5 separate regions of the Homo sapiens genome follow, and all the other regions are linked to region 4. Evidence: promoter capture Hi-C in 16 types of primary human blood cells and fetal thymus (Javierre and others, 2016). All regions are on one chromosome and are shown on one strand. Each heading gives the region's core, a stretch centred on a gene start or on the middle of the fragment in contact. The rest is flanking DNA. Distances are from core to core; before and after follow the strand shown. Region 1 has its middle 40 kb from the start of LINC02687. Region 2 has its middle 25 kb from the start of LINC02696. Region 3 has its middle 24 kb from the start of LINC02687. Region 4 holds the start of LINC02690 (long intergenic non-protein coding RNA 2690). Region 5 has its middle 5.2 kb from the start of LINC02696.

Region 1 (3,411 bases), core at 407-2,906, 340 kb before region 4:
TCGACCTGAGTCATGCTCCCTGGAGAAGGGGCCTGATGTCATCGAGAGCTGGCAGAGGAGAGGCATAGACAGGCTGCTGCTGTTAAAAATGACACCTCTGCAGGCTGCTGTGATACTGTGTGTGGGCCAGCTCTGTCCTCTATCTTCTCCTCTCCCTGTGGCACTGCCCTAGCAGGGCCTGCCTGCATTGCTCATTGCTCCAGGCTTTATGTTTGGAGAAGAGAGAGAGAGAGATGAACTGGGGCCCAGGAAAATATGCAAGTGGGGGCTGTGCATGAGGACCATGGCTCTGCTGCTTACCAGCTCTGGGAGCTTGAGCAAATTGCTTAAGCTCTTCTTGCCTCAGTTTACTGCTCCGTAAAATAGGGATGGGATTGTTGTGATGGTGAGAAAAGAGCTTGTCTGTGACCATGCCTGGCACAGGCACACAGTAAGCTCAATAGATTGATCAAATATTCTCTTTTCTTTCTGGCGACTGGCAGGTCCGCATTCCAGGAAGAGGGCAGAAAGAAGTGGGAAGACTGTGCTTCTCTCTCTCTCCCTGTCTTTCTCTCCCTCTCTCATTTCCTCCTTCCCTTCCCTTTCCTCAGAGCAACAGAATGACCTGTCTCTCAGAATGAGCCTGGGCCCAGGGAGCTACATTCCCAACCTGCCTCTGAAAGGCAACCCTGGAGGGCAGGTCCTCTCAGCAGGCTTGGACACCCTCTGTCCCTCCATCTTCTCCCTTTAGGTTCAGACCAAGGCTGCGCCCTCACCCAATTGCCTTTATTCTGAACCTGCTGCAAGACAAGCTTCCATCTTCTGCAGGAATAAGTATGGCTGGAAAAAGTGCAGGCCAAGGAGTCAGCCCTGCACCTCCCTGGCCAGGGGCACTGCATACATTCCTGGCCTGGTGACTTCACGCATCTTTAGGGCAGGAAGAGTACCCTGGCAGGGCTGTTAGGAGGACTTGCTGAAATGACATTCTTAATGCTGCTAGTTCAGAGGGCTTTAGTCCACGTCCTTCACTCCTATAAATTTCCTTTCACTCTGTGCAAAGTGCAGAGGTTGTCAGGCAGCAGCTTCAGAGCCCCTGACTCCCCTGGGGCATGGTGGCCCTCACTGGATCTGCTTCCTCCCTCGAGGTGGGGGCCTTCCCTGTCTGTCTGTGAGTACCCTGGTCAGCATGTGGGTCTGTCTCTTGTCCGATTTCCCTTCCCTTGTCCTTATCACCCCTCCCAACCCGACCCCCGACCAGGACAATGCCAAGGTTTGCAGGAATTCTCACCCACACCCCGCCTCCACCTCCCTGCCCTTCCTCTCTGTGGGGAGCCCTCTGTGTCGCACAGAAAGAGAGCAGCAGATGTTAAAGCCGTGTTCCCTTGTCCGCACTCAGCCCGCTGGGGTGTTTGATCTCTGGCTTAACAAGTTCAGCCATTTTTCTGAAATGAGGAAAAGATTCAGACAGAGAAAGAGGGATGGAGACAAAGAATGAGAGAGACCATAAGATAAAATGATCCAGAGACTGAGAGGAAGATAGAAGAGAAAGACAAAGCAAGGCAAACACAGAGAGAAAGAGAGAGAGACTAGAGCAGGGACCACCTTCTCTTACAATCCTCACCTTCCCCCTTCCCCATTCTCCCACCTCTCACCTGACCTCCTGCCCTGCCTCCCACCCTGCCTCCCACCCTGCCTCCCAGGCCCTGATGACTGGTGACCATCAGCCTTGTAGCCACCATATCAACTCTGAGTGACCGTGCCCTCCCTGGGGGAGGTTACAGCCTCTCTCCTGTGTGACAGGGCATTTGCTTAAGATTCAAAGGCCTCTGATACAGAGGACGCTTCCCTCACAAGCTGGGAAGAGTAGCCCTGTGGTCCGGAGGGCTGGCTGGCAGGGGACAAATGGGCTGCCAGGATGGAGCCAAGAACTCCTGCTTTGCTCACTCCTGGGGCTGAGCAGCCTTTCAGGAGCACCCGGGGAGCCAGCAGTGAAGCCCTCCCTCACTCAGCATTAACTCCAAATTTATTTCTTGCTCTGCCTCTCCCTCCCCTCTTCCCTCTCCCCTCCTTTGTCTTCCCAGTATTCGATTTCCTATTTGAGAACCGTTCCAGCCTGTGCCACTGCTGAAATCCCATCCTCGGTAACCAGTGAAGGCTGTTTTAAGCCTGTGAGTCAGAGACCAGTGCTGGTTTTTATTAAAGGCAAAAGGAAAATAATCTGATTTTTAAAAAGCAAAACACCTTCTTAATGTTTCATGGGACATCAAACTGTCTGAGATAATATCTTAAAACACTCATATACACATGATAGCCCCCAACCCCTTCCCAGCCTCAGGTGGGAGTGTCAAACCTGCTTGGGTTATTTTTTTCCCCGGGCTAAATGTTTCTAGGTCACTTCCATCCTCCCCCACTGAGAGCTCCCATACAGGAAACGCTAAGGATTCCACTCCAGTCCCCGAGCCTCCATAATTAATGGGATCACTGGAAACCAGCCGGAAGGATGCTAGGGGCGAGGGGTCTTATCTCTCTGGTCTCCAGGCAGAGAAGCTTCTCGCCAGATGAGATGCTGAGTCTATGCAGGCCCTCGGGCCACATCTGCTGACACTGATCCAGCTCCTTACTAGCCCACCTGGGGCTGGCAGTCTCGGGGCCTCTTTCTCTTCCTGCCCCACCACCCTCTGGAGCTGTCTCTTTCTATAATTCTTCCCTCGTCGAGTCTATTAGCGTTCTCCGGCAGGCTCTGCCAAGCTCAGCTGCATCTCCTTGTCTAGTTTATATTAGAAGAGAAAGCTCTGGCGTGTTTTCCCCTTACCTGAGGAAAGAGATGCTTCTCTTTTTCAAGACACTCATAGCCTTTGATGAAGCCCAAGAAAGGCTTAAATTATAATGAAATGCAGTCATCTCCAGACGAGATTACCCGGGAGTGCTTCCGGCTGCCTTGTGAAAACGGCCTTCCAGCAGAAAGGTAGCTGGGTGCAGGGGCTGCCCTGGATGCCTGTATGGCCCTGTGTGCAGCTTGTCACCTGCCTGCCCCTCCTCCCTGCCTGGACTATTGCAGTAACCTCCCGACTGGGCTTACCACCTCCTGTTTACCTCCCCTCCCCTGCTGATTCTTTCCTGCTCTGGTCTGATCACTTTCCTTCTCAGAGACCTTCAGTGGCTTTTAAATTCCCAGTTCAAATGCCCCCTCCACTCCTTCACCCAGCCCTCCCAACACCTTCCAGGTGGGCTGCACTGCACCACCTCACTGACATCCCTGCCTACCACTGGTCTGGTCTGTAGCCCAGATTAAAAATAAAAACAAAAAACAAAAAACACTTCACTTGTCCTGCTTGGGATTATCATTATTTGTATATTTGAGAAAAGAAAGAAAATAGCCCATATGGACAAAGGCCCACCATGTGCCAGGTGCAAATGTCAACCTGCCTTGGA
Region 2 (3,416 bases), core at 264-2,763, 420 kb before region 4:
AAACTGAGGCTCTGAGCAGTCCTGTGGTCCTTCTCTTCCACAAAGCTGCTGTAAAGTCTGAAGAAAAGTCTGGGCTCCCTCGGTCTCTCTCCACCTTTGCAGCCTCCTTGCCCTTCTCCTCGACCCAGGCCATTCTTTTTCCTATCCTTTCTCCAACCAGATGTCACCCCAACACCTGTACACACCCCATCCAGCTCGGCCACAGAACTGACTCTCACTCAGGATGAAAGCAGTCTCCTTTCTTTTCAGTGAAAACCTGCCTTGACCCTTAAACCTGATGCTTGGCATTCCCTGATGCAACCAAACTGACTTCAGCCTGAGATCCAACATGAGGCTGAGCCATCAGGACTGCCTTGGCTGGACATTTCTCTCCCTCCTGCCAGGTACCCTGTTCTCAACCTCTGACTGGCTGTCACCTTCAGACTGCTTTTAATGGAGCAAAACGCAAGCTTTGCAATAATAAGGGGCTTCAACAAAAGCCTGTTCAGAACAGAGAGAGAATTTGAGGAATCTCAAAGCTGAAATCAGTCTGGTTAAGTTGGGAAATGCAGTGCTACAAGTTGGGCCAACAGCCCTAGAGGCCTACAGGGACAGAAGGACCCAATCTTTCTACACTTGGGTTTCTGTTCTTGTGTGGGTCCAATTTCTAGAGTTAAACTTCAGGCACAATTTCTAGATGTGCAACAGTAGTAGCTCTTATCAATGGAGCACTTCCAGTGTGCCTGGCTCTGTGCTGACCCCATTACATGGATTCATTATTTGGCTTCTAGAGTGGGTAGAATGGTGGCCCCCAAAAGATACATCTGTGTCCTAATGCCCAGAACCTGTGAATATGATCATATTTGGAAAATTGATCTTTGGTGATATAATTAAGAATCCTGGGTTGGAGTCATACTGTGTTATCTAGGTGGGCTCTCTATCCAATGACAAGTGCCTTTATAAGGGATCCATGAAGAAGAGACAGAGGGACAAAGATTGGAGTTCTGCAGCCACAACCCAAGGAACACAAAAAGGCAAGAATAGATTTTCTTTTTTCTTTTTCTTTTTTTTTTTTCGAGACAGAGTCTCGCTGCTTTTTCAAGACAGAGTCTCGCTGCTTTTTCGAGACAGCGTGTCGCCCACGCTGGAATGCAGCGGCACGATCTCAGCTCACTGCAACCTCCGCCTCCCGGGTTCAAGCAATTCTGCTGTCTCAGCATCCCAAGTAGCTGGGACTACAGATGCACATCACCACGCCCAGTTAATTTTTGTATTTTTAGTAGGGATGGGGTTTCCCCATATTGGTCAGGCTGGTCTCGAACCCCTGACCTCAGGTGATCCACCTGCCTTGGCCTCCCAATGTGCTGGGATCACAGGTGTGAGCCACCATACCCAGCCTAGATTTTCTCTATAGCGTTTGGAGGGAGTGCAGCCCTGCCGACACCCTGATTTCAGACTTCTAGCCTCTAGAACTGTGAGTGTGTAATTTTCTGTTGTTATAAGCCACCCAGTTTATAGTAATTTGTTACACCACCCAAAGGAAATAGAGGAGTCTCCCATCAACTCTGGAAAATAGACACAGTCATCTTCCATTTTATAGATTAGGAAACTGAGGCACAGGGCTTGGATAACTTGTCCAGGGTCCCAAAGGCAGGAAAAAGCAGCACCAAGATGAAAAACCAGTTAGAATGACCCCAGAGACCATCCTCCCAGCCACAGTCTGTGATGCCTCCTGCTCTGCTAGACTGCTGGAATGTGCCTAAAATAAGTAGGCATTTGTCCCCATTTTGCAGATGAGAAAAACAAGGCAACCGTGAAGTAACTGTTGGGGAAAATAAAACTGGGATGGAACATTGAAATTCAAAAGTAGTTCCTTGTATGCCTCTTTTCTTCATGCTCACAACCAGCCAGAGAAGTGGTTGTTACAACGTCCATCTTCCAGATGGGAAGATTAAAACAGTAGCTCTTTGAGGGAGGGACTGTTCACCATTGCTACCCTGAGCTAGCCCTGAGCCTGGCTGAGGTAGCTCAGGGAGGTGTGGTCATTCATCCAAGATCATGCAGCCTGCCAACATGAGGCCAGGGACTCAAGCCTGGGTTTTCTAATGCCAAAGCCTGTGTTTTCCCTCTGCTGAACAAATGCTGACCTCTGTTATCTCCAGACTATATGAGCAAATGGGTGGAGGGCAGAGAGACACTGTGAGGCCTGGAGAGAATGTTGGTGGCAGCTTTGAGACTGGGGTTGGGGGTGGTATGCCTTGATGACTAGAAGGGTTTGGACAGGTGAAGGAAACAGGACAGAAGAGATAAACTGACACCCAGCATGGGGATGCCAGGGTCTAGAGGCAGGAGGGAGGCTGGGAACCAAGGCTAAGGAAGGAAACCCAGATTTACTCTTCATCCTCCCTCTTCCTGAAGCTCTCCATGTACCCCAAAGCCCAGCCCCCAGTGATAACACTACAGGCCTGTGCCCTAATGGCAGGCCATGCATCAAAAGTCAGAAGATAGTGGGGCAGCCATGCTACTGCACACAACTTGATACATTTCCCAGGAGCCCTGGAATGTCGGCTCAGCTTCGGGAGTCACATCTGACTTCTCTAAGCTTCAAGGCAGTGTTCAGAAGTGAGAGGTGTCCTTCCTCTCCTTCTCATGAGTCTGTGTGGATGGTCAGAGAGCCGTATGTTCTCGTACACACCGTTTTCGAAAGGAGACAGTCCTTGACTTGAGTTTTAGGAATTCTCTTCCCAGTCTTTAGTCATTGATTTCTAGAAAAAAACCTTTTCCTCTTTATTATTTAACTTCTGCCTTCATCCCTGCCACCCAGGCTGAAGAACTGACAGTGAAGTATGCTTTCCTCAAAGGCAAGAGAAGGACAGGGTTATGGAGAGAGTCCTGGCCACGAGACGGGATCTCAGGGGTTTAGTATTAGCTCTGCCTTTAATTGGAATAGTGAGGATGAGTTTGGGTGCTGGAGTCAGACAGGTGCAGGTTCAAGTCCCAGCTAGACCACTTTCAGGCTGCATGGCCTTGGCCAAGTGGCTCAACCCCTCTGAGGCTATAAAATGGGAGTAATTGTGTTTGCAAAGCAGAGATTTGTGGGGAGGATGCATGAGCAAATGCACCGGCTCCGTAGAGCTCGGTACATAGTGAAGCTTCAGTGCTAATGATTATCATGACATTAGGTCTCTTACACCCCCTTCCTTCCCTGACTCAACTAAGTCATGCTGCTGGTCCTTGTCTGCCAGGCTCTAGCACAAGCCAAGAAGTCTCCCTCTTGTGGTTCCTTATTCCTGGAATTCTTGGCCCCCAGCTCCTTGAAAGCCTGGCTGCTCTTCATCTTCAGGCTCGGGGGAAATGCCACCTCCACACAGATCTTGTTCCTGTCCCTCCATCTCTTAACCCCCTCCCCACAATTGCTGATAATTGTGTTGATCTGA
Region 3 (3,306 bases), core at 346-2,845, 360 kb before region 4:
GGTCTGGAGGATGAAGATACATTCCTGTCCTTCAGAAGCTTGTGCCATGGCAAGAGAGAAAGACACAATGCAATTATGATGCCAGGCCCGGAGAGCCATGGATTATTCTGGATGTATAGCCATGGTTCATTCTCTGAGGGAGTTGAGACAGCAGAGGAAAAAAAATACTGCACCAGAAGCAAGAACACAGATTCTGCGAGGGGACAACAGTGGGAGGGGTGGTCTTTGTGTGTGTCGGGGGCAGGGGAGACGGGGTGGAGGCAGAACTAAGGAGACCCTCCCCTGCACCACGCTTTGGCTGGATCTTGAGGGACACGTGGACATTGATGGGGAACAGAGGACTCCGAAGGGCGCTGCCGGGGGTGGAGAAGGTCTGCCGAAAGGCATGGAGGTGCAGAAGGGCAGGGCACAGCCGAACTGCAAGGTGTAGAAGGCCAGCTGGGAAGGGTTCTGATACCAAAGGATTTTGGACTTTGTCCCACAGGCACTAGGGATGCAGAGACAGATCCTAGGAAGGAGGAGCGTCAGAGTGAGCCAGAAAGATCCCTCTAGAAAAGCTTTTCCCACTGTAGTGAGGCTGATGGAGGCAGGAGGCCGGCCAGGAGGCTTTGGCCATGCCCACGAGGAAGGGAATGAGAGTGTCTGACCTCAGGCACTGGTTGTGGGCACAGAGGGTAGAGGGTAGTGGATGTGGGGAGTGAGGAAGGCGGGTTTCCTGGCTGCCTCTGAGGTTCCAGCATAAGGAGAACCCAGACAGGCAGGGGCAGTGTTAACTTTAGTCCTTCCTGACCTCCGGCCTGGTCCACCTTTGCTGAACCACCCGGTCTCTCTAAAGCCTGAGCAATGTAAACACCCAGCTGGGCAGGTTCCAGTCCCCGCTCCCCAACCCCTAGCTGCGCAACTTCGGACAAGTCACTCCCCATCTCTGACCTTCTGGGCTTTAGTTTCCTTATCTGGAAATGGGATGACCTGGAAGCAGGGCTAACATGAGGATTATAAACTCTGTGTTTGTTTCAGATTGGTCCTGGCAGGAAACAAGCTCATTCAAATTGGGTAATTGGAAGGGAGTTTTTAAAAGGACTATTTCCAAAGATCTGGGTGGGTGTAGAAAAATCTCAAGGGACAATTCGGTGCCCAGGGCTGGTGACAGTCATCCCAGTGACCACCCGGAAGCCTATATGGGGAGGGCCACCTGGCAGGGGCTGGGGCTGGGGCTGCAGCAGCCTCCCTCTGACCATTCAGATGGGGAGCCCTGGTCCCTGGGCTTCAGTGGTCTATACCCCAGGAGACTGAGTGTGGGTCTCTCCTTGAGTGTGAGAAAAGCAGTGGGCAGCCCCAGCCAACAATCAGTCTCATATGGAGGTCATAGGAGATTCACTTTCTTGATCAGCCTCCTAGAACCAGGCCAAATCAGGGGGACAGGCCAAGGGAAGCTGCTGATTTAAAATTCAAATGTGTCCAAAGCCCTCACCCCAGGACCTGAAGTTCCCTTTTCCACTTTCTATGCCCCATCTCTCTCTCCTGCTTCTTTTCTTCCCTCCGTCTCTGTCTTTCCTCCTCCACTCTGTACCTCCCTTCCACCTTTCTCCTCTTCCTCTTCCTTCCTCCTCTCTTCTCTCTCTGGCCTTCTCTCCCTATCCCCCACCTCTGACCTTACTTAACAGCCAACACCGTCCAAGAGACACTCCTCAGTCAGAATCGCCCTCACTTTTTGACTTCACATTTGTGGACCTTGGCCTGAGGGAGATGTGGTGTTGTGCAGGTGTTGGGGGCCCCAGTCACCCTGGTGGCTGTGTCTAACACACGGAGGCTCTTGGGGAATCCAGAGAGGTGTAGAGCCTTAGCCTTCCATTTCCACCAGCAGTTCTTGACCATCCGCAGTAACTGGCCTAGTCAGTGCCTGGCTGCCCAGCACTGTCTGGACATCAGTGGGATGATGGTCAGTCCTGGGGAGGAAGCAGCTGCTCCATGAGAAAGAGTATGTGTCTGCGTGTGTGTGTGTGTGCGTGCGTGTGTCTCTGTTTGTAGGGAGCAGGCCGGGATTAGCCAGAACAGACAAACTTTTTCAGGTGAATGATGAACAAGGACAAAAAAGATGGGAACCATTTAAATTGTACCTAGTGTGTGCTAGGCACTGGGCAAGGGGCTTGCACATACTTTATCTAATTCTCACATTGGCCCTACATGGTTCTACCCATTTTAGAGGTGAGGAAAGCAGTATTGAGGACCAGCTAAAGGCTCGTGTCTGTGATAGGCTGTGTGAGGACTAGGGAACAAGAGTAAGCGCAGTACAAGTCAACAACACTATTAGTTGGGCACCTACCATGTGTCAGGCACTGGGTTATAAGGAAGCCTCCATGCTTGTCTGGCACAGTTCCAGAGCAGAGAGAAATGAAGCTGGTGACCAGAGAACCCTGCGACATCAGGAGTGCAGATGACTTAGGCATCTTCTAGAAGTGCAACTCCTCCATTGAACAGATGGGCAACTGAAGCCCAGAGGGAGGAAGTGTTTTCCCCGAAGCCACATGGCGAGTCCTCTCGTTCTAGCTCACAACACTGCTTCCAAGGACGTTTCTTCTGCTTCTAGGCTCCCCCTGTTTTGAAGCTGATTTTTATTCCCTCACTTAAACAATTAAGCTTTAATACACTAAAAACAGATCATTATCTTCCTAAGGTTTAAAAAGCAAGATTACTATTTGTAACACAAGTAATTAGCTACCTTCTGGTGTTTCCTTACACTCCTCTTCCCCAAAGGATTATGCTTTTTTATGTTGCAGAGGGCCCAGCAGCTAGATGTGATGGCCAAAGCTGTGGCCCTGGAGGAGGCAGAGGGAGGATCCTGGGATCTTGGGAGCTGGAAATGCTCCAAGTAGGGAGGAAAGGGGGCTAGGGTTGGCTGTGGGGGATCTGCCTACGTGCAGAGTTCCTCTTTAGGGGTGCGGGCTTGGTTCTGACGTCACTGGACCATCCCAGCCCAGATTGTTTGTTTCCTGGGCCACATTGCTGCTCTGGATAAAGATGGCCACTGCCTCAGGGATTTACGGGGGTGTAAATCAACTGTAACACCAGATGTGGAATCTTCCCATAGAGGATCTTCAAGGGGTCTATGAGCCCTCTGCATTCAAATGAAATGTCTGGATCTTTTTCTAATTGTTTGGGAATAGGGTCCATGGATTTCATCAGATAATTTTAATGGTAAAAGGAAGATTCATTGATTTTTTTCTTTCATTTGCTTTGTTATGAAATATGAAGAAGCACATATAAAGTGTATGTGTCTAATGTAGAGAATAATGAAACAGCCAGATG
Region 4 (3,486 bases), core at 182-2,681:
CAAAGACGGAGTTCAGGCTTCTATTCCTGTTCTCCTGTGGTTTCTGTACAGTTTTCAGGAGGGGAAAGGAGTGGAAACCTTTCTTCTACTGTCTTAGAAAGTCTTGGGCAAAATCTGAAATGGGGGATAGGAGTTGACCAGGCAGATGAGGCAGCAAAGGGTATTCCTGCCAGAGGCAGCTATCTTCACAGGCAAAGAGGAATAAAGAGAGCCTCCTGCTGCATGGCTGCAAGCAGGGAGAAGCTAGAGCCTAGGCTAAGGAAGTGGATCCGGAAGGGCCTTCAATGGGCCAAGAAGTGTGTCCTTGATCCTGGAGCAAACGAGGAGTGGGAGGAGAGGAGCCCCTTGGCCACATCTGCCCTGGGGCAGCAGCATGGCAGAGGTGCCAGGGGAGCAGAGCGTGGGGGGCATGCGGGGGAACAGACACGCTGGGAGGAGAGAGTCCCCTAGGGATGTGAATGTGGGAACAGGAGGAGGAGTACTCTGAAAGCTGTCTCAGAGCTGGAACCAGCAGGACTTGTGACTAACAGGAACGGGGCATGAGGGCAGAGGGAGAAGTGTAGTTTGAATCAAGTTTCTGGTTTGGGCAACAGAGTAGGTGGCAAGGCTGTTGACAGAGATGAAGAAACACCGCGGGAGAAGGCAATGTGGGGAAAACTCTATTTGCATCTGTATTACATTCCTCCAAATTCCATCTCTGAGAAGTCCACGCTGGCATTATATATAGTCGCAGTCAATATCCACATAACATTGTGGTCCTGCTTTTTTCCCTTAGCAGTACGTTTCCAGGTGTCACCAGAATCCTCAACGTCTTCCTTTGATTTGGCCACAGAATATTCCATTGTGTTAATAAACATGCCGGTTTCACCTTCTTATCCCCATATTCTGGGCATTCTGAAGAGGACTGTGATGGACACCAAGTTGTTCTCAGTAGGGCCTGTGAGTGGCTCCATAGCCCAGGTCTCCTGCCTCCTCCAAGGCTGAGGACCCCCTGAGGGCAGCTCAGGGGTGCCGTTGCATCTGCTCTGCCATCTACAACAGGAAATGTTGAGGAAGAATGCTTGAGACCTCACAGTCCCTGTAACTCACTGATCCCCAAAACCACCCCTGAACCTCAGAGGAACTTGCTTCCCCCTCTGGTCCCCAGGCAACACTGATTCTCCCAAGCTAGGTCGGAGCAGGGAACCTCACTCTTCCTCCACCTGAGCCCTCTCCCCTTCCCAGTGGCCATGCTGTTTTCTGCCGTCACCCTCCCCAGTAATGGCCTCGCTCACATCTCCTCTCAAGAGGGTCCCAAGGTACATGGGTCAAGTGAAATCAGGGTTGCCCCAGACCTAAGAACAGTGGTGCCCCCAGAGGGAAGCTGGAGCCCTGTGGCAGAGGTGGAGGAAGAGGAGAGGACCAATCAGTTGTTATGGCAACCAGGGCTCCCAAGATGGAGGGAAGGGAAAAGGCGGCCCTGCTCATCAGTTGCCATGGCAACCCAGAGCCTCCAGGCCAGCTTTGAAAACAAAAACCACACACACCCCACTTAACAAAGAAAGTACCCAGGACTCCTCGGTATGCTCCGCAATCCAGAGCGCCAAACGGAACAGGTCAAGGTCTGGTCTCACGATTGACTTTGTAGACTTTTTTTAGGGGCAGAAGGGCTGCTTTTTTTCTGAGAAAATAGAGAGCCAGGGCTTGATAACCCGTAGGGTCACTCAGCAAGCATTTACTGAGCCTACTACATGCCAGGGCCACAGCGACAAATTAAGATCCAGACCCACTTTCAAAGGAGGAGAACAGATATTTCCACATCAGTACGAGACTTGCTGGAAGTCTTCCCTGACGACGGTTTGGCAGTGTTCATTAAAAATTTTAAGTGGATGTTCTCTGTGACCCAGCAATCCCATTTCTAAGACGCTGCCTGCAGAAATATTTGAATCTGAAGGTGATCTTTGCAGCATTATTTACAGCAGTAGATAATGGAAAACAACCTAAATGTCCCGTAATGGAGGCCAGTTACATCAATTTTGGTACATGCATACACGTTGAAAATGCAAAGGCGTACGGGCGGAAGAACACATAAGGAACCATTAGCAGCCATTACCCAGGAGTCGCAGGACTGACCAATAGGGTTAGAGAAGGGGGGCGTTTCACTTTACTTCTCAACCATTTGGAGATGTTACAAGAGTGCGCTTCCCTCCCGCCCCCAAGAGAGACGGGCTCTTGCTTTGTCACCCAAACTGGAGTGCAGTGGCACATCACGGCTCACTGCAGCCTTGACCTTCCAGGCTCAAGTAATCCTCCCCTCAGCCTCCTGAGTTCAGCCTCCTGAGTAGCTGGGACTATAGGTGTGTGCCACCTGCCCAGTTAATTTTTTGTATTTGTTTAGTTTTTTTGTTTTTGGGGGTTTTTTTTTCCTTTTTTTGAAATGAAGTATTACTCTGTCATCCAAGCTGGGGTGCAGTGGCACTATCTCGGCTCACTGCAACCCCCGCCTTTCGGGTTCAAGCAATTCTTGTGCCTCAGCCTCCTGAGTAGCTGGGATTACAGGTACCCGCCACCACGCCTGGCTAATTTTTGTATTTTTTAGTAGAGACAGGGTATCGCCATGTTGGCCAGGCTGGTCTTGAACTCCCAACCTCAGGTGATCCACCCGCCTGGGCCTCCCAAAGTGTTTTTGTATTTTTTGTAGAGACGGATTATCGCTATGTTGCCAGGGCTAGTCTTGAACTCCTAGCTTCAAGCGATCCTCCGCCTTGGCCTCCCGAAGTGCTGAGATTACAGGAGTGATCTACCGCGCCTGGTTTACTTTTATAACTTAAGGAAAATGCTAAATGTTTGGGATGATTGGTCATACAATGGGATTTATAGTGATGAAAATCAAGTACGTTAACTGGTTATGATACAATGCAAAAAAAAAAAAAAAAAAAAAACCAGCACAGGCCAGGCGCGGTGGCTCATACCTGTAATCCCGGCACTTTGGAAGGTCAAGGCGGGTGAATCACTTGAGGTCAGGATTTCGAGACCAGCCTGGCCAACATGGTGAAAACCCGTCTCTACTAAAAATACAAAAATTAGCTGGGCATGGTGGCCAGTGCCTGTAATCCCAGCTACTCGGGAGGCTGAGGCAGGAGAATCTCTCACACTCAGGAGATGGAGGTTGCAGTGAGCCTTGATTGTGCCACTGTACTCCAGCCTAGATGACAGAGCAAGACTGTGTCTCAAAAAAAAAAAAAAAAAAAAGCACAAAGGCACTTACAATAGGAGCATCAAGGGAGAAGAGGAGAAGTAAGATGGGTGGGAAGAAGTTAGGTCTTGCAGGTTGCAGAAAATGTCATCATCAGGAGAAGGAGGAAAGGCATTTTAGCTGAAGAAATGGCAAAAGCAAAGGCTAGGAAGAGTAAAACTTCCAGTACTCTAGAAAATCCCAAGTGGTCTCTGTGGCAGAGGTGAAGAGATGTGACACAGACCTTACACAGGAGCAGCAGGAAGCCATCC
Region 5 (3,210 bases), core at 711-3,210, 400 kb before region 4:
CTGCACTCCAGCTTGGGTGACAGAGGGAGACTCCATCTCAAAAAAAAAAAAAAAGGAGCATATGTATGATTCAATCACCATTTTAAAATATATTTTGTATTTCAATAAGGCTGTAATCATATGTGTCTTCAGCATTTAAAAAGTTTTATTCCAAGGTGCCCCTAGGCTTCCCTGCCAGAGGTATCCCTGACATGAAAGAGGTTAAGAAGCCCTATCTAGACAAAAAAAGGCAGGCCTTATTTAGACCAGGGAGTAGTATTAATAGAAGGAGCAAGGCAGGGCAAAGGTACTATCTTTGATCCCGGCAAAGTACAGCTGGATATGGCAAAGCAATGCCTGACCCAACCTGAATGCCAGGTAGCCAGACAAACCAGTGTGGTCTAGAACAGTCTAGAAGAGCAAATTGCCTGGAAGGGTGCTGCTCATGACAATCCCAGGAAGCACAAACAAGGGAGCCCTTGAGGAAAATCTCCCCCAAAGTACCTGTGGTCACTGTTTAAAGCTCTGGCTTTGACCCAGGTCAGACCTGGCTCAATCCTGGCTTCATAATCACCTTTGGCAAGAAATGGTTCACCTAATCAGGGTGAACCTCAGTTTCTCTCTCCATCTGTAAAATGGTAATAATACCTCCCTTAAGTTTTTGTTAAAGTTATGTAATTTATTCATAAATATGTTAAACAAAGAAAGCAAATTACAGAATGATAGATACTTCATTTATGTACAATATTAAGTAATACAAAACTATGTTATATAATGTTTATAAAGACTTCTGCACTAATATAGAAAATTATGCGTGGGGATCAAAAACACCAAATTCAATTTCCTAGTGCTTATATATAGGAAATGGGGGAAAATAGGTTTGGGATAAAAAAATGATCTGTGTTTGTAAGTGGAGAATCTGAAATAAATACATATGGCAAAGATTAAGATTTGATAATGCTTTCTTTTAACCTTTATTTAAGTGACCTACAATAAGCTGAACACTTAAAAACATACAATTTAATAAGTTTTGGCATATGTATACTCTCATGAAACCATTACCATAATCCAGATAATGAACATATCCATCATTCCCAAATGTTACCTCATTACAACATGCCATGTTGTAATGGCTCATCTGGCAGCCTGACTTGAGAGTGTGTGCCTTCATCCTCCTGAAGAGGGTCAACTGTATTCCTTTATTATCTTGCTTATTCTGGAGAACCTGTAGTAATATCCTCTGTTTCATTCCTAATATTGGTGATATTAGAATGTTACCTAATATTCTTCTTTTTTGTCTGTCTTGCTAGAGTTTTATCCTTTAGAAAATATTTTCAAAAAACCAGCTCTTTTTTTTTAGTTGCTTTAATAGTTTTATTGCTTTCTATTTCTTGACTTTGCTCTTTATTATTTCTTTCTTTCAGCTTGTTATGGGTTTAATTTGCTTTTCTTTTTCTAGGTACTGTAGTTGGGAGCTAAGATTGTTGATGAGAGTTTTCCTTTCTTCTAATGTATGCTATGCATTTAGTGCTATAAATTTCCCTCAGCACTGCTTAGCTCTCTTCTACAAATTTTGATATGCTTATTTTCATTTTCATCCAGTACAGCATATTCTTTTGTTTCCCTTGAGACTTCCACTTTGACCCATGGAATATTTAGAAACGTGTTGCTTAGTTTCCACCTGTTTGGGTGAGTTTACTGTCATCTTTCTGTTGCCGTTCTCTAATTTGATTCCACAGTGGTCAGAGAACACACTTGGTATGATTTTAACTCTTTCAAATGCGTTAAAGTCTGTTTCATAGCCCAGAATGTGGTCGATTTTTGGAGTATGTTCCCTGGGCACTTAAAAAGAACATACCTTCTGTTGTCAGGTGGAGCATTCTATGAATGCTGATAAGATCATTTTGATTGATAGTGTTGCTGAATTTTTCTATATCCTTGCTGATTTTCTGTCTAGCTGTCCCATTAATTATTGAGAGAGGGGTGTGGATTTGTCCAGTTCTCCTTTTAACGTATCTATTTTTTGCTTCACATATTTTGCAGCTGTTATTTGGTGTGTACACATTTAGGGTTGATATTTCTTCTTGATGGATTGACCCTTTTATCATTTTGTCACATTGTTCTCTATCTCTGGTAATTTTCTTTGCCCTGAAATTTACCTTATCTGATGCTAATATAGCTACTCCCACTTTGATTGTTTGCATGATATATTTTTTCCATCCTTTCACTTTCAATCTGCCTATATTGTTAAATTTGAAGTGAGAATTTCTTACAGGTGGCATGTAGCTAGGTCATCATTTTCCTCTACTCTGCCAATCTGTGTGTTTTAATTGGTGTATTTAGACCATTGACATTTAATGTAATTATTGATATGTTAAGGTTTAAGTCTACCATTTTGTATTTTCTATTCTCATTTCTGTTTTCTCTTTCTTGCCTTCCTGTGAGTTATTTTAACTTTTTTGTTGAATCTCATTTTTATTTATCTAGTGTTTTTGAGTGTCTTTCTGTATATTCTTTTTAGTGGTTGCTCTAGGTATTTCATTTAATATATACATAATATCGCATTCTCTGGGGTCATCATTTTACCAATTTGAATGCAGTGGAGAAATTTTTACCATCCTCTATATCCCTTTACCTTCTCCCACTTATAATTGTCTTAAATATTTCCTCTACAAACATTTAGATAGATATCAGCAGATACAGGGGAAGTACTTTTTTGTTTGTTTTGTTGGTGGTCTTTGGCTGGAGTCAAGCAGTTATTGTCCAAAAGCCTTCTGTCTTGCTAAGTTGCCCCATTCTTAGTCCTTTATCTTAAGAAAGGTGGCTTTTCTTGGGACTTTTTTTTTTTTTTTGTCTGATGCCGTTAGCATTACTGGGTCACTGGCTTCCTCAGCTCTAGGTTTGGAATATATGAGGCAAAGGAAAACCCAGAAAATTTGCCAGCATGGTGCTCCTTAGATCACAAGGTTCCTAGTCATTCCACCTTTCTAAGTCTTCTTATGTTTGTTTTTTGTATAATGCCCAGGGGTTTTAGTTGCACTTTGTGGGAGGAAGAAGAGAAAGTACATTTACTCCATTTTCCTGGAAGCAGAAGCCCTGATGCATTTCTAAAGCTGGCCTCTTGTTCCACTTTCACAAAAGACATTTCCCTATGAAAGAGCGTTAACATCCCACTGCTCTTCAAAATGGAAAACAAGTTTGCAGTAAGAGACAAGATGATCAGCAAGGTTT

Evidence for each region. Contacts are between HindIII fragments. The CHiCAGO score rates a contact against its expected background, and 5 or more counts as called.
Region 1: a contact is called between a fragment that was not itself captured here and the fragment with the promoter of LINC02690 in region 4, in 2 of 17 cell types (endothelial precursors and M0 macrophages). The highest score is 12.1, in endothelial precursors.
Region 2: a contact is called between a fragment that was not itself captured here and the fragment with the promoter of LINC02690 in region 4, in 1 of 17 cell types (endothelial precursors). The highest score is 5.5, in endothelial precursors.
Region 3: a contact is called between a fragment that was not itself captured here and the fragment with the promoter of LINC02690 in region 4, in 2 of 17 cell types (endothelial precursors and M1 macrophages). The highest score is 11.0, in endothelial precursors.
Region 5: a fragment that was not itself captured here is called in contact with the fragment with the promoter of LINC02690 in region 4 in 4 of 17 cell types (endothelial precursors, M2 macrophages, megakaryocytes and 1 more); the score reaches 9.7 in endothelial precursors.

Annotation. Positions count from the first base shown.
Region 1 is chr11:45,409,725-45,413,135 of GRCh38, forward strand. No RefSeq gene overlaps it. Among named protein-coding and RNA genes, the nearest start is that of LINC02687, 40 kb to the left of the region's middle. RefSeq lists enhancers at 1,402-2,062, 2,063-2,724. The HindIII fragment of the contact is 1,735 bases long and covers 790-2,524 here.
Region 2 is chr11:45,328,815-45,332,230 of GRCh38, forward strand. No RefSeq gene overlaps it. Among named protein-coding and RNA genes, the nearest start is that of LINC02696, 25 kb to the right of the region's middle. The HindIII fragment of the contact is 2,132 bases long and covers 448-2,579 here.
Region 3 is chr11:45,393,649-45,396,954 of GRCh38, forward strand. No RefSeq gene overlaps it. Among named protein-coding and RNA genes, the nearest start is that of LINC02687, 24 kb to the left of the region's middle. The HindIII fragment of the contact is 2,080 bases long and covers 556-2,635 here.
Region 4 is chr11:45,750,177-45,753,662 of GRCh38, forward strand. LINC02690 (long intergenic non-protein coding RNA 2690) reads right to left here and starts at 1,432. Exons shown (of 2, transcript NR_183774.1): 1 at 1,335-1,432; 2 at 644-1,032. The HindIII fragment of the contact is 8,573 bases long and covers 1-3,486 here.
Region 5 is chr11:45,348,609-45,351,818 of GRCh38, forward strand. No RefSeq gene overlaps it. Among named protein-coding and RNA genes, the nearest start is that of LINC02696, 5.2 kb to the right of the region's middle. The HindIII fragment of the contact is 5,570 bases long and covers 1-3,210 here.